2 separate regions of the Homo sapiens genome follow, and region 2 is linked to region 1. The links are contacts of gene promoters, found by promoter capture Hi-C in blood cells and fetal thymus (Javierre and others, 2016). All regions are on one chromosome and are shown on one strand. Each heading gives the region's core, a stretch centred on a gene start or on the middle of the fragment in contact. The rest is flanking DNA. Distances are from core to core; before and after follow the strand shown.

Region 1 (2,715 bases), core at 124-2,623:
AAAAAAAAAAAAAAAAAAAATTCTCCTGCTTCAGCCTCCTGAGTAGCTGGGACTACAGGCATATGACACCATGTCCGGCTAATTTTTGTATTTTTTGTAGAGATGGGGTTTTGCCATGTTGGCCAGGCTGGTCTCGAACTCCTGACCTCAGGTGATCCGCTCACTTCAGCCTTCCAAAATGCTGGGATTACAGGCTTGAGTCACTGCACCCAGCATATGCCAGTACTTTGGAAGGCTGAGGCAGGAGGATTACTTAAGCCCAGGAGTTCAAGACTAGCCTGGGCAGTGTAGCAAGACCCTGTCTCTCTCTACAAGAATAGGAAAAGTTAGCCAGGCGTGGTGGCACTTGCCTGTGGTCCCAGCTACCTGGGAGGCTGAGGCAGGAGGATCCCTTGAGCCCAGGAAGTCGAGGCTGCAGTGAGCCATGATCCAATGCCGCTACACTGCAGCCTGGGTGATAGAGCGCGACCTCAACTTGGGGGGAAAAATCTGTCTATCTATCTATCTCTCCATATATGTGTTTAATAAAAATGGGCAAATGACTTGAATAGACATTTCTTCAGAGATCATATACAAAAGGCCAGCAAGCACATGAAAAGATGCTGAACACCATTAGTCATCAGGGAAATGAAAAAGAAAACCTTAACGGGGCGCGGTGGCTCACACCTGTAGTCCCAGCACTTTGGGAGGCTGAGGCGGGAGCATCGTTTGAGCCTGGGGCGGTCGAGGCTGCAGTGAGCTATGATCTCACCACTGCACTCCAGCCCGGGTGACAGAGCGAGACCCTGTGTCAAAAGAAAACAAAAAAAGAAAAGGAAAAAGAAAGCAAGGGAAGGAAGAAAGCCCTCGGTTCAGGGTCGCCGGGGAAGGGGCTGGTTTGGACGGCTGTCCCGCAGGCCCTCCGGGTTAGAGACCGTCGGGGGCGTGTCTTGAGCTGGGGACGCGACTCCTCGGCGGGGGTGCACCTGAGAGGCCGGGACCAGCGAGGCCGCGCCCCGGTGGCAGGTGACCCCGGGCGCGTCTCCGAGCGCCAGGGTGGGGCGAGGCGGACGCGCGCCCCAGGCCCGAGGGGGTGTGGCGCGGGCGCGCGCGGGTTCCGGGGTCGCCCGAGGCGGCGGGCGGGGAGCCGGGGCGCGGGGGAGGCGCGCGCCGCGGACGCGGCCATCGAGCGAAGGGGGTCGGCTGGCCGGGCGGGTCCCCCTTCAGGTCGCGGGGGTCAGGGCTGCGCGCGAGGTCCCTGGCCCCGGGGAGCAGCGGCCCCGCCTGCGTCCCCTGCCGCCGCGTCCCCCTCGGCCGGGCGTCCCCGGACGCCCCCGCCCCGCGCGGTGGTACGGTCCGGGTTTAAAAGGCTCCGGCGGCCCCCGGGCCAGCCCAGTGTGTGGGCGGCGGCGGCGGCGGCTGCGCGCTTGGGGCCCGGGGCGCGGGGCGAGGCCGTGGGGACGTGCGAGCGGGGCCGCGGTGGGGCTCGGGGGCGCGTCCACGTGGCCAGAGGGCGGCCACCCGGAGCCAGCGGAGGGACAGGTAGGTGGCCGTCATCGTCGCCGTCCGTGCGGGGCCAAACAGCTCGGGGCCCGGGGCTCCGGCAGCCCGGGGGTCCGGCTCGGCCTGTGGGGGTCAGGCCCTATCCCTGCCCGTCGGCGCCGGCCTGCCCGACTCCTTGTGCCCCGCATGGTGGGGACGCCAACCCAAGACCAACACCCTGCCCAAAGAGGACCCTTTGTCGCAGGGGAGCGGCCCCTCGGAGGATCAACGCTGTACTTCCCTCCCGCTAAGGGCTCCGCGAGTCCGCCGAGGGGTGCCCTGATGGGGCCCGGGCAAACCGGACCAGCAGCACGGTGGGGGGTGTGGGGGGCGGCCGCTGGACCCCCGTCTCTGCGTGGGGCTGCCCCTTCCTCAGGCTCTCTGCTGGCCCAGCTGTACCTGTGATGCCCGAGGTTGCCACTTACAGGTGGGGGCTGGGCCTGAAACTGCCTCCCCAGGTCTCCCTCCCGACCTGTCCCCAGCCTGTTCCTAGGCTTGTGTTCCCGGGGTGTAGAGGAGGTGAAGACAGGATGTGGCCTCTCTTTTCTTTGGCCTTCCTTTCTTCTCCGGCTGTTGCATGAGGGGTCCAGCTGACAAAAGAGCCCTGGAGAGGTGATCAATCTGAGCTGAAACTTTGCAGTTTCAAGCTGGGCCCGCTGCTTGTTCCTGGCAAATGCCTTATTTTTCCTTTCTCTCTCCTGTGCCTCCTTGGTTTGGTTCCCTGCACCACCCCCCGCTCCCCCCCCGCCTCCCGCCCTCAAGCTGGGTACCTCCTATCTCCCCCGGGAGCTCTGGCACTGAGAGGGTAGCGCTGAGCCCTGCCCTGTTGGCTGCCACGACACTGCTCTGCTGTCTTAGCAGCCTGGGGCTGACTGGGTGTGGCCTGGGGACTAAGTGCCAGTCCCAGCACTGTCCCTGTGGCTCCTGCCCTGTCTCTCCAAGGCCTTGACTGTATTTGGGGACATTGCTCCTCCTCTTGTAAGGCTCCTGGGACTCCAAAGGGCAGGTAGGGCCCCCTGTACATTCCCTTCTCCAGTGAACCCCTGGGTCTGGAGGGGGAGCCATGCAGGCTGTGGCTGAGCAGAGCTTGACTGATGTGTGTCTGGGTGCGTGGCTGAGGGGCAGGCGCGACTTGGCTTTGTGTTGCATCGGGGAGGCCAGACAGCGGGCTCCTGGATGGCCAGCTGAGGCCCT
Region 2 (2,715 bases), core at 141-2,640, 420 kb before region 1:
GTGACCAATGATGCCCACCCTGTGTCACCAGAGGCTCTGGGCCTAACCCTGTCACCCCCTCCCACCTTTTCATTTGGAGAACTTTCAGGTTCATCTGGAGAACTTTCATCTTTCAGGTTCAGTTAGGATGGCACTTCTAGACCGGGCGCAGTGGCTCATGCCTGTAATCCCAACACCTTAGGAGGCCGAGGTGAGCAGATCACTTGAGGCCAGGAGTTTAAGACCAGCCTGGCCAACATGGCAAAACTCCGCCTCTACTAAAAATACAAAATATTTGCCGGGTGTGGTGGTGTGCGCCTGTGGTCCCAGCTACTCGGGGACTGAGGCATGAGAATCGCTTGAACCTGGGAGGCGGAGGCTGCAGTGAGTTGAGATAGTGCCATTGCACTCCAGACCAGGCGATAGAACAAGATTCCACTTCCCAAAAAAAAAAAAAAAAAGATGGCACTTCTGAGACACCTTCCCTGCTCCTGCCTCCCTCCCTGCTCTATGAGCCAGGGCACCCGAGCCCTCAGTGTACTTAGAACACCCCACTGTGCGTGCCAACCCCCATCTCCCCGCTCAATGCATAATGCCAGGCACAGGTGCAACCCTTACTCAACACATGCTGGATGAATAACCACAACACGGACGCAGCGCTCCACGTGCTTCTTCTGATGGCTGGAGACCTTCGACCGTAAGCTTCTAGCAAGGAGAGGCTAGCTCAGTGCTGAAAAAAAGGTGGGCTCTGAATTGGTGAATAAACAAATGATGAGTTTGGGACATATCAGTAGTCCGTTGGACACTGGTGGCTTGGAGATGGCGGAAGATGAGGTGGAGGAAGTCACTGAGGAGGGCCTCAGTGCCCCAGGGACAGTAGCATGGAGGATGGTTACGCCAGAGGATGGATCGACTTCTAGCCATGTGGTGGTCAGGTATGCAGACACCTCTCCTGCTGAAACAACTACAACTGCCAAACTGAGTATCTTACAGAAGCTGCTAGAGAAGCCACCCACAAGCTGGCAAGAAAGGAAGGAATACACAGGCTGAAGAGCAAATAAAAGTACGGGGCCCTTTTCTGTGGAGAAATCTGGCAGGCACCACCTTAACACACGACCAAACTGAGCTCAGGCCCCTCAGTGCTGCTGAGATGAACCAGCATCACGAGTAGGAGACTGAAGCTTACCGTGAGGAGACAGCAGGAAGAGTCCAGAGAGGGCGTGCCATGCAACCACGGTCTGGACTCAAGATGATGAGAGAAAACAAGGGGGTGGGGGAACATTTCTGATAAAGGAGACTGAAGGGATGACACAATCGAATACAACACACAGTCCTGGACTCTGCATTCCAGGCTCAAAGGCTCTAAAAAAGGCATTTATGGGGTATGTGGAGAAATGTAAGGTTCTGTGTTAGCTCATTGCTAAACTTCCTGAGTGTCTTAACTGTACTGTCTGCTCTTAGGAAAGGCATGCTTAAACGTTTAGGAGTGAAACAGCACGAGGACTATGACTAACTCTCAAGTGATCAATGGGCTAGGGGAAATACAGTGCCAATATGGTAACATGTTTAAAAGAAGGGAGATGACATCAATATAATCAGAAGCTATGCCAACTGACAGTAATATTTTGAAGCAGTGGTAGGCAAGCTTTTTAACAATTAAAGAGAATGCCTTCATATTACACAAAGACATTAAGAAAAAAAGCTGAAGGCTGGGCACGGAGGCTCACACCTGTAATCCCAGCACTTTGGGAGGCTGAGGTGGGCGGATCACGAGGTCAGTTCGAGGCCATCCTGACCAACATGGTGAAACCCCCTCTCTACTAAAAATAAAAAATTAGCCAGGTGTGGTGGCGCGCACAAAGGGACCGGGGCGGTGCTGGCGGCGATGCCAACAGACCTCAGTGTACTGTGGGGTTCTTTCAGCCAGAACTGTTCATGGTTTCATCAGTGAGCTCCAGTTACCACACCACACAAGTTTGGAGTGATCCACCCCGCCCCAGTTTTTCCTGCACGAACTCATGTTTTTATTGTGTGATTTACAGAACACAAGATCTTTTTCTAAGAATGCACACATCACACGTTGAAGCAGAAAGGCCTTTACAAAATCTTAAAATACCTACAAAATATGAAGTAAGGCTCTTAAGAAATAAAATATTCAATGATTTTGCTGCTAGAATGCAAACATTAGATCAAATCCTTCATTTGATCTAGCAAAGGAAAATTAGAGTTGCAGGAATCTTGTTTTCAGGCCAAACCATGACATCCTGAGGGGTCTGATGGCAGGAACTGCCTGCATTTTCCTCATGAATGTGACCTGCAGTGATCTTGTGAGAAAGGCCCGGAAGGCCGTGCAAATTACAGGGGTACAAGCAACAGCTGGCAGGTGTGGCCAGACAGGCAACTGCAGTTAAGGAAAGACTACTCAATCCCTGAGGTTTTCAGATTTTACAAAAAGGCAAAAAAGCCAGGTGAACAAGGCAGATGAAAGGTATTTTTCACTTGAATTGGAATCCAGCCCCCTCCCTGTCCCCTGGAGTGAGCTCCAGAGAAACTTCCAGAGCCCCAGCAATATCCCAACCTTTCGTAAATTCACTCATGCTCGCCACTTTCAGGAGATGGCATTTCTCAGCACCTTTCACTTCCAGTTATCCCTCGGCACAGCACAAAGAGCTAAACTACCACTCGAGGCAGTTAACCTAAGGGCAGGGTGGTGGCTACAGCTCCAGGTGAACAGTC

Evidence for each region. Contacts are between HindIII fragments. The CHiCAGO score rates a contact against its expected background, and 5 or more counts as called.
Region 2: a fragment that was not itself captured here is called in contact with the fragment with the promoter of PLXNA3 in region 1 in 1 of 17 cell types (non-activated CD4 T cells); the score reaches 5.2 in non-activated CD4 T cells.

Annotation. Positions count from the first base shown.
Region 1 is chrX:154,456,908-154,459,622 of GRCh38, forward strand. PLXNA3 (plexin A3) reads left to right here and starts at 1,374. Exons shown (of 33, transcript NM_017514.5): 1 at 1,374-1,521. RefSeq lists enhancers at 782-851, 2,277-2,715 and silencers at 942-1,111, 1,242-1,481, 1,722-1,791. The HindIII fragment of the contact is 19,869 bases long and covers 1-2,715 here.
Region 2 is chrX:154,039,195-154,041,909 of GRCh38, forward strand. The region is part of intron 1 of MECP2 (methyl-CpG binding protein 2); the gene reads right to left. Among named protein-coding and RNA genes, the nearest start is that of MIR718, 21 kb to the left of the region's middle. RefSeq lists an enhancer at 1,854-2,354. The HindIII fragment of the contact is 464 bases long and covers 1,159-1,622 here.